3 separate regions of the Homo sapiens genome follow, and regions 1 and 3 are each linked to region 2. The links are contacts of gene promoters, found by promoter capture Hi-C in blood cells and fetal thymus (Javierre and others, 2016). All regions are on one chromosome and are shown on one strand. Each heading gives the region's core, a stretch centred on a gene start or on the middle of the fragment in contact. The rest is flanking DNA. Distances are from core to core; before and after follow the strand shown. Region 1 holds the start of VPS50 (VPS50 subunit of EARP/GARPII complex). Region 2 holds the start of SLC25A40 (solute carrier family 25 member 40). Region 3 holds the start of BET1 (Bet1 golgi vesicular membrane trafficking protein).

Evidence for each region. The method cuts DNA at HindIII sites, captures the fragments that hold promoters and counts their contacts. A CHiCAGO score of 5 or more calls a contact.
Region 1: the fragment with the promoter of VPS50 here is called in contact with the fragment with the promoter of SLC25A40 in region 2 in 1 of 17 cell types (naive CD8 T cells); the score reaches 6.1 in naive CD8 T cells.
Region 3: the fragment with the promoter of BET1 here is called in contact with the fragment with the promoter of SLC25A40 in region 2 in 1 of 17 cell types (total CD8 T cells); the score reaches 8.8 in total CD8 T cells.

What each region holds. Positions count from the first base shown.
Region 1 is chr7:93,230,350-93,233,784 of GRCh38, forward strand. VPS50 (VPS50 subunit of EARP/GARPII complex) reads left to right here and starts at 2,017. Exons shown (of 28, transcript NM_017667.4): 1 at 2,017-2,151. The coding sequence starts at 2,119. It also overlaps a transcript of HEPACAM2 not described here. RefSeq lists enhancers at 1,718-1,787, 1,928-2,097, 2,188-2,237, 2,478-2,537. The HindIII fragment of the contact is 4,774 bases long and covers 1-3,435 here.
Region 2 is chr7:87,874,490-87,877,631 of GRCh38, forward strand. SLC25A40 (solute carrier family 25 member 40) reads right to left here and starts at 1,871. Exons shown (of 12, transcript NM_018843.4): 1 at 1,607-1,871. It overlaps DBF4 (DBF4-CDC7 kinase regulatory subunit), which reads left to right and starts at 2,004. Exons shown (of 12, transcript NM_006716.4): 1 at 2,004-2,289. The coding sequence starts at 2,244. RefSeq lists silencers at 1,264-1,713, 1,844-2,103 and enhancers at 1,467-1,976, 2,164-2,283. The HindIII fragment of the contact is 3,397 bases long and covers 447-3,142 here.
Region 3 is chr7:94,003,087-94,006,228 of GRCh38, forward strand. It overlaps BET1 (Bet1 golgi vesicular membrane trafficking protein), which reads right to left and starts at 1,269. Exons shown (of 4, transcript NM_005868.6): 1 at 1,112-1,269. The coding sequence starts at 1,130. RefSeq lists enhancers at 479-1,085, 1,086-1,691, 1,146-1,195, 1,206-1,835. The HindIII fragment of the contact is 1,547 bases long and covers 400-1,946 here.

The DNA of each region.
Region 1 (3,435 bases), core at 767-3,266, 5.4 Mb after region 2:
TGACATGCTAGAGCTGGACTGCCTTTAAGAATCACTGAAGATTTTAAACAAACAAACATCCCCAAAGAAAACAACAATAATAACAGCACACACCTCAGGTGAATCTGAACAGTCAGGTTTGAGATCTACTGAACTCAGATCACCCCTAAGATATGCTTTTAAACCCAGTTGTGAACTCCTTGTGACCACAACCATAGATTATTAATCAAAGTGCTTATTTTAGTGTTGCCTTGAGCGCAACAATCAAGAAATGTTTATTGACTTGGGTTTTATTTTATAGGCTAATATGGCTGGCAGTTTTTGTTTCTTTTGATGCTTTCAGGGACTTCTAAATATTGCAGATTTTCACACACAAAGAACAGTCTGACAATTAAGATTAGAGAAGGTAAAGAATAAACTAAACTAGACTTGCCCTAAATGTGACCAGAATTTCTTGAAGGGGTTAGAAATAACAGAGTCAGAGAAGCATATAGGTAAACATATAATTTCAAAGGAATTGCTGAACGCAGTGATGATACAAGTATGCACAAGGTGGTTCTGTTGGAGTAGAGAACTGGGCAGAATCAAAACCAATAATACCTCATAATTGTATAGTGCTTTACAATTTATACATTTCATTCACCTACATCATCTCACTTATCCTTACAAAGCCCTATATAAAATATTAAAATATTACAACCTCATTTGTAAAAATTAATAAAACGAGGCTCTAAGGGGTGAGAAAATAGAATTTCAGAATCAGAAATAACCTCTGTTAGTGTCCCCCAAACTTCAGTCATTTGCAAATCACCTTTATTAGTTTTGCCATATCTGACTACCACCCATACTATTGTTTACCTAGTATTTTTTATTACGTTGACACACTTGAACTTTTTTTATTCTAAGAAATATTTTTGAAATTATGGGTCTGTGTCATACTTTTAGAAGTTAACATTATAATAAAATAAACTTAAAAAAATTGGTGCCATGCTTTAGAACTTTCTTCAGCACAATACATGAAAATCTTAACACATCTGATGACCGATTAATCCTTCAGTTTCTACTTGCACATCTGCAGTAATCTTAGGCAAGTTCCTTAATTTCGCCATACCTGCTTCGTCATCTTTAAAATGGGAACCCACAGGATTCTTGTGTGGATAAATGAAATCATATATTTAAAGCTATTAGCAGTTCCTGACAGGTACTCGGCTTTCGATAAGTGTTAGCTATCATTGTTAGCTTTAGGGCTGCTTTTTCTTCTTCTTCTCATATTCTCATAATTGTAAAGTCCTTTTAAAATTGTGTCCCCAAAGACACTTCTGTTCCTTTCCCCAATTTAACTAAACTGCCAAAAGTTGAAAAGAGGACTTTAAAGTGACAGGTATACTCGTTATTGTCGTATTTCCCGTCATCACTGCTTTAGAGTACGGAGGTAAAATAATAGGCGGGCGTCAAAATCCTTCGATTTTAGAGCTTTTGCAGGGGATACCAAGACTGAGGTAGAACAGCCCTAAACCTGGAGGGCCGCCTATTGGGCAACCTAGAGCACACCTTTCCTCAGGCCAAACCCAGCGCGCCCGGGGTAGTCTCGAGTTCTCAGGTTACCCCTCAGTGACAGCCCTTTCTTGAGTTCCTTCTCCTTCGCGTCAGTCTCTCGTTCTCCCACCCCGCCCCTCTAGACCAGGTGAGGTTTCCTCCCTCACACTCCTAGGGGACATCGCGTCAATCTGGCTTATATATTGTCTCCTCTGAGTTTGATCTTTCGCTCAACGCCTAGTCACCTGTGACTTAGGTTTCCGTCTCGCCGAAGAGTAGCTACTGCCTAGTGCAAGCACCTTTGTAAGACCGGCGATCGCAGTGGTCGCTCTGAGCAGTAATATTTACCGGCTTAACTGAAGCACCCGCTCTTTTGCTTGCTGGGAGATGTAGTCCCTGGGTTGGCCACTTTAGTTCATCGTTGCTACCGCCGGCGTCCAGAAGACTACAGTTCCCAGCAGGCCCAGGGAAAGACAGGATACCCTGGGTCGGCTCCTCCACGTGACCACCCACTATGGCTTCCTAGTGTCAGGGCCAGCTGTGTAGTGGCTCGGTGTGATTTGTTAGCTCTTTGAGGCAGGGTACCCTCCTCAGGATTTCGATATGCAAAAAATCAAATCTCTCATGACCCGACAGGTAAGTCGCGGCGGCTGAAGCAAAGGCTTCCTTCATCTCGGAAGTGAGAGGAGCCGAGATGTTCTGTCCCCAACCAGTGGCGGGCGGGGATCTAAGTTATGGGTGGTGGCAGGTGTCAGGGGGACTGGGAAGCCGGGGCATACCCTAGAAAACTCACCTGGGCCGCCTGGGTTGGAGCACTGCTCCAGCGGGTACCAGCCTCCCAGAAATATTCGTTTAAAAATAAGTCATTGAAGGAATCAGGGTATCTTTGTCTCCCCTCCTCCTCTTTTTGCCGTCTTTCCAGAACAGCCCGAGCTTCCTTGCAAGGTCTTCCGCATCCAGGCTGTCTGTCATATGCGAGCTGATAGCCTGGGTAGGGTGGTGTGGTCTGTGCAGTAGAGGTGACCTGGAAAGACTGAAAACGGATGATTTGAAGACAGAATTAGTAGCTTTTGGATTTTGGGCAAGTCCCCAAACTTTGTAGCTTACGTTTCTGGATGTGAAAATAATTATTTTTGTTCATTTTACTTCACAGTTCTGTTATGAGGGTCATCGATAAGCTAATATATGTGAAAACTCTTTGTGAAATTCTGCTTTAAAAAATTTATTTTTGTCATGGCAAAATACTGATCTTTTCTTTTTTTTCCCCAGAATGGAAATTCATGAATAAGAGCTTTGGCTATTTTGTAACCTGTCTCATAAATGTTAGGGACCTCGTAATAATGCCTCAGCTTCATTTAAGAAGTGCAGAAATTTTCTTTTATGTACTTATTGATTATGACTTTGTTTTAGCTGCCTTTATTTACTTCAGCTTTAATATTTCACTAGAATTGGTCATTTTATTATTTTAATATGAAAGATAGTTAAGATTAGAGTTTTAAATCAACATGGCTTTTAGAAGTTTGGAGAATGTGGAAGGTAATCGTTTAGTGAAAGGTATATTTGTGAGTTTTTTTCTTGTTGATTACAAAAATAACTCAAATTCCACATTCTTATTTGAGAATTCACAATTTGAGAGATATATAAACAGGATACAAATTGTGTATTTCTCTTGCACAATGCACAAATGACCCTTACATGATTATTTTAGTTATGTCAGAGCATTTTGTTAATGTTATGAAAATATAATCAAAATGTTCTGTGAATAATAAAAATATTTAAGTAAGTGGCTAGTAACATTTGTTAATTCCTCACATGTGTTGAGTACTGGTGTTGTGCGTCCTACTACTTCTTACTTGACGATGAGTTTGGGTCCTGCTGTATCCTGTGGCAGCTGTGTGACTTTCGGCAAGTTACATAACG
Region 2 (3,142 bases), core at 621-3,120:
TACTGTACTTATCTCTGCCACCTACTCAAATTACCCTTAAGGAAACCAAGGATACCTGAAACGCCAAAATCAAATACTTATTTTTCAAGTCTTAACCTTATCTGTCCTGGGGATGAAGGAACTGGTGCAGTGTTCACTAGAATGATAGTAATTATGGAGCTCTTAAGGAGCTCTACTCTGTGCCAGGCACTGTACTAAGCATTCAAAAATGTTCATTTAATCTTCACAACATCCCTGAGAAGTACTACCCCCTTTTAATAGATTAAAATTGGGGCTCAAAATTACCCAGAGGCCAAGTAGTTAGTGAAGCCCATATGATTCCAATGTTTGCAGTCTCTTCCCAATTCTGTGGCATTTTCTCCATCTCTTTCACTATTTCATCAACGACGCTTATAATCAATTCTCTTATTTCACATGCTCTCCTTGGCAATTTCATTTCCTCCCAAAGCTTTAACTACATTCTATATTAGTGCTTCCCAACTTTTTAAATCTTTCTGTAAATATAAACATTTTGTGCTCTCTGTAGCTTATATTTTGAAAATAAGTTTTTTCCCATAGAAATTACAATATTGAATATGTTTGTTCAAACTACACTTCCTTCCACCACTCAAGATCTGTTAACCTCTAATGAATTGCCCCATGATTGACATCAATAGACCTTGATGCAGAAATATTTTATTGGAGAGATATCAAATCAATCTCTATTTCCTCTTCCCATGTCCACTTCTGCTAGACATTTCTCTCGAGTCATAAACATCTTTAACTGTCTAATAAGCATAGTTCCATGACTGTCGCCCCAGGCCCTTCAACATAAACCTGTCTAAAACCAAACTCTCATTTCCCTTAGCAAACCTGTTCTCTGCGTTCTCCAGCTAATCTTGTCACAACCCACCCTTGTCTATTCTTTAAGGTACCTACCTGCAAAACCGTAACGCTGATACTCTGACTTCCTTGAGCTACCAGGTAAAAAAATCAACCACTACAGGAGTGCCTATTATGGCCTGGAGTAGAGGAATGCAAAATAGTTCAAAATATCCTCTTCCTCCTGAAGAAACAGATTTTTTTTTTTTTTTGGAGAGGCATGTTCCAACTTATAAAATTAAAATATATTCACAAGCATTTTAATTTGATCTTTAATCTCTGTTTTACAGGAAAAAAAAATGAGATGTTACTTTCCACTCCTTCATTGTTGAAATAAACTTACACTCAACTAAAAGAAAACAGGTCTGAATACAATAAAAGTCAACAGGACAGCGCAAATAGCCAACTACCCAAGGACACAAAGTGACCTGGAGGCGTTCTGCGGTGGCGCTGCCGTCAAGGCCGGGGCCGCCTGGCCAGACCCTCCCTCAGACGCCCCCCGGGGCCGCCCTCACTCCCGCACGTCCCTCTGCAGCTGTCCTCAGCCGGTGGGGTCGGCAGTGACCGCGGGAAAACCCCGCTTGCTGTGCGACCCAGGGCGCGCTGAGCAGGGGCTGCGGCTGCCGCCGCTGTCCGGCTCCGGTTCCGGCCCCGGCCCCGGGCCCGGCCAGAGCTGAGTCCGGACTCAGCCAAAGCCCCTCGCCTTCAGCTTCCCAGACGTCCGACCAGTGGAAAATTAGCATACCTGGGGCAGAAGGCAGCTGCAGGGCCGGCAGTCCTGGCAAACCTAGAAGGCGGGAATAACCCTGGTGACGGGCGGGGCCGGGCTCCGGCGCTAACTGCATCCACTAGGTTTGGTCAACACAGAGCCGCGCCAACTCTCTGAGGCTGCGCCAAGACCTGAAGCGGCGGACCGAGAGCCCGGGTCTGAGACTGAGAGAGCAACGGAATGGAGGCGGGGTAGAGGCGGAAACACAACCTGCAGGGCCAGAGCGAGGCGCGAGAAGGACGGCGGCGTGAGGGGGCGGGGCGCGCAGCGCGAGAAGGCAGGCACGAGGGGCGAGCGCGAGGCGGGGCACGGCGCGTGGCGTGAGACGGGGCGGGGCGCGCGTATCGGCGCCGCGGCCGCGTGACGCGTTTTCAAATCTTCAACCGCCGCAGCCCACTCGTTTGTGCTTTGCGCCTTCCTCCTCCGCGCCTTGGAGCCGGATCCGGCCCCGGAAACCCGACCTGCAGACGCGGTACCTCTACTGCGTAGAGGCCGTAGCTGGCGGAAGGAGAGAGGCGGCCGTCCTGTCAACAGGCCGGGGGAAGCCGTGCTTTCGCGGCTGCCCGGTGCGACACTTTCTCCGGACCCAGCATGTAGGTGCCGGGCGACTGCCATGAACTCCGGAGCCATGAGGATCCACAGTAAAGGACATTTCCAGGGTAAGAAGCCCCTCCTCCGCCTGCAGTCCCTTTAATCCTTTCCTCCCCTCGTGGTTCCACCATTGATTCTTCAGACTTCTCCCGCCGGGTCCTCAGCTTCTTTTCTTCTGACCGGCCTCTGGGGTCTGAAGGAAGGAGCCCCCGTTCAGTGTTTTGCCTAAGAAGGAACGGATCCTGACCCGGCCCCTCGAGCGCTCTGCCGTTTACAGCGGCGGTCCCAGATTGATTCCCGGTCGTGCCTTCGGTTGAAAACTAGCAAACAATGTGCAGATCCGGGACCTCGCCGGGACTGCGGCGCTGTCTGCTCCCGGGCTCTCGCATATGCTAAGCCTCCGCCCGGGCCCTTGGAGGCGACGGACTGCATCCTCAATTTAAAGTCAGACGCGCTCGTGGCTTTTCGCTTCAGGATTAGATTGAGTGATTGTGGGTGGATTTTTGGTCTTACCCTTGAAAGTTTATTTTCCTTTCCTCATAAGTTGGGGGAAAGCATTGTATTTCAAACACCCCATTGCTGGTTTCAACATTACAAACAGGGAAACAAAAGCAAATTTCCATTTTCAGTCACTTTATTTGGTGAAACATTCCAGCACCTAAGTTTTTTGTACAGGTGTTTGTGTGTGTGTAGTAACTACCAATTTAAGAACAGATTGCGTTTGAAAAATTAATTTTTAAAGCAGTTGCTTGGATCTCAGATCTGTTTCTAATGAAAATAATGAAAGGTTTAGTTCTTCGTAATGGACCGTTAAGTTCTTAATACGTAGACAAATTGTATGTGAAATGGACCGTTTAGTTGTTAATATGCAGACAAACTTTATATGAAACTAAAACTTGAGCAGTCTGAAACCCTTGAGGA
Region 3 (3,142 bases), core at 19-2,518, 6.1 Mb after region 2:
CTCAAGCACACAATAAATCTTTTTTGGTATTAAGGATGATGAACAAGAAAAACATTTAGACATATAAAGCTAAACTTGCTCAAAATTATTTCTTTTTTTTTTCTCTTCAATTTACCTGGCCCCATTTTCTATGATCTAAGTATTCATAAAAACTTCATTAAAAAAACAAAAAACTTTCTCATACTACAATTTATTGATCAATAAACAAGTCTACGGTTATTGGCAACTTTCACTGACTTTAAATATCTGACACTTTGGGGATTTTTTTTTTCTTTTTTCAATCTTATAATGACTGAGAAAGGTAATATCTTTTTTCAAATGTTTCATTTATTTTCTGAAGTATACTGCACTCTAATTTAGCGGGGTCTTCTTTAAAAAAAAAATCGTGTCCTAAGAGAAAGCTTCAGAACCAGAAAATGCCGTTCTAGTAGCTGTGCGTTACTATAAGGGTCCATTAAAATTCCTTGTGTCTAACTTATTCTTGCTGATGAGCCAGTTTCCTAACCCCAAAGGTAAAGATCAAATGTTAAGTCGCCAAACCTTAACCACGTTCTACTGCCTTAACCGTGGCACAAGGTTCAGATTAAGAAATCGCCTTTGACCCAGAAGTTCCAGTTCCAGGACCTTTAACAATAATGACACATACATTTACCTTTGTAACTCACTGTTACCAGATTAACGACCATTACTAGCGTGCTTTGGGTGCAACCACCCACTCTTCAAATTCCGCTTCTGAAGAAACTAAGATCCAGGGCCAGTAGGGAAACAGAAACCGGAGTCGGGCTTTGGAAAACATAGCAGCGTCCATAACCACGCTCAGTCAATAACACTAAAACACTCGACCACTGAGATGCCACCTGTACACACCCACCCCTAGTCCACTACTTTCTCTAGCCTACCATCCAAACTTGAATCTGACTCAAACTTAAGGAAATTCCAAAGATCTGGGACAAATGGTGTGTTTCCACTCGACATGGACCCCAAAGATCCCCTCTAGACATCCTGTTTTTTGGACCAAATGCCAGGAACATAAGACAGGTTCGATTTCCTCCCGCGCCCCAGCGCTCCCGGTTCTAGGGCCCCGAACTTCGAACCTCAGCCCTCTTCTTACCCAGGCCTGCACGCCTCATCCTGCCAGAGGAGAGAGAGAAAAGGCGGGTGCGGGGCTTTGGGTGAGTAGGAAACAGCTAGGGGCGACCCGGACCGCGTCTTCAGTACCAGGGCCCAGCGAAACACCAACTTCTTCCCCTAAAGCGCCACGACATCAGTGGAGTCTAAACACCGCGCCGGATGATGGCGTCACCACGGCGCTCATTGGAGCCCTGGGAAGAAGGTTGAAAGGCATTCTGGGAAATGTAGTTCACCAACGCATAACGTGTTGCTGAGGGCGTGATGTGAACCCGGTTCCAGGAGCGGACGGGGCGTCCGGAAAAGGGGGCGGCTTCGACTGCGGCTCTGATTCTGGGTCTCTGATCCAACGTTCCCGCTGTTCCGCTCGCAGCCCGCGGGTCGCTGCTTTCAGTTTGTTGACCACCAAGTTTAACCCAGCAGATCTGCTCCTCCCCACCCACAAGAGGATGGTTGGGGTATCTTTCCTGATTTAGCCTCGAACTCCCTCTCACCTCCAGAGACGATTCAGGGAAAGTTAGAGAAAACTTTGTCCAGGTTTCTCAGTTTACAAACAAGTAATCCGACACCCACAGAAGTAACCGATTTGTGCCTTGTAGTATCCAGTAAAGGAAAGAAAACCAGGTTCCTTTGAGTAGGACTCCTGCTCAGATGAGAGCAGACTAGGAAAGGCTGCGGGATCTGGTCAGAGGCACTGAATAGTTAGTTCCCTGTTACTGCATCTGTTGTACTTCTAGAAAGAACCAAGACTTTTAGTTGTTATGGGGACCAAAGGACCCCTAAACGCTCTCCCACTTTTTTTTTTTTAACTTACACAAAGCTTATTGAAATACTGCTTACACAAGGCAGTGTGCCAATTAGGGGTTTAAAACTTGTTGGCGAGTTGGAGGTGTTACTGGTATCGAGGTTAATCCTAGAATTTCATTTTATCTCAGAGGATTTATCGTGAGAATACGATGAAATCGTGGTTTTTGAAGGGAAAACAAAAAAACCTGATACACAGTAGGTGATCAAAATTCACTGGGTGTCTGCGGTTTTGTTGTTGCTGCTGTATATATGGCAGTGGAATCGTCTCCACACTAGAGATTTCCGAATATGTGATCTTTGATCATTTAGCGTTTCCTCATAGTTTCCCAGGACATTATTAACATTGACTATAATACTGGCATAAGTCTCTGCGTTAAGTTGCTTTTGTAAAAAACACATGAAAACAATTTTTAATAAGAGTTATTAACCTGGGAAGGAGGCTTTATCCAATAGTGTTTTGATAGAAAAAAATCATTAAAATAAAACCGCCATTTTCTAAAAGCAATGAAATTAAATAAGCATAATATCAGGGACAATTATTACAAATAAAAGATGGAGATTCAATAAAAGAAATGATAGCTAGGTATCCCTTTATAACTTAAAATCTGTGACAGTCCTTTGGTTAAAAAAATGCATGTTCTATAATTAAAACGTTTAAAAATTGCCTTACAGAAGGCTTGCTGATGGAAATGTAGAAATCGTTATTTTTGAAAATATGGTAATATTTACTAGAACTAATCATTTAGATTACATAAAATATACTGCTTCCTTTACATGGTAGGAAGACATAAGAATGAAATGTAGTTAAAAGGAAAACATATATAATGTACTAAGAATATAACTGAAGTAAGGCAAAGCTAGTTCATATTGAAGTTGTTACCTAAAAAATCCAATTATTGTTTTTAGCTAACGTTGCTAGTATCAAATTAGGATAATGTCATCTGAAAAAAATTTGCACTCAAAGGAAGAGGCAGGAAAAATGAACTCAATGTGCAGAAAAAGAATTATTAAATGTGACCATAGTTGACATTAGCGATCAGAGGGAATCATTTTCACTTTTCTCGTTGTGCTTTTTCCTTTTTAAATTAAAATCCTTAACTTTTCTTACTGATTGAAAGCAAATAAATTTCACAGAGATGAATAGCATTTAGAACCTCTTCTCTATTCTCACAGGATAGTCTCACAGAAAACATCTAATGTTTGTAGG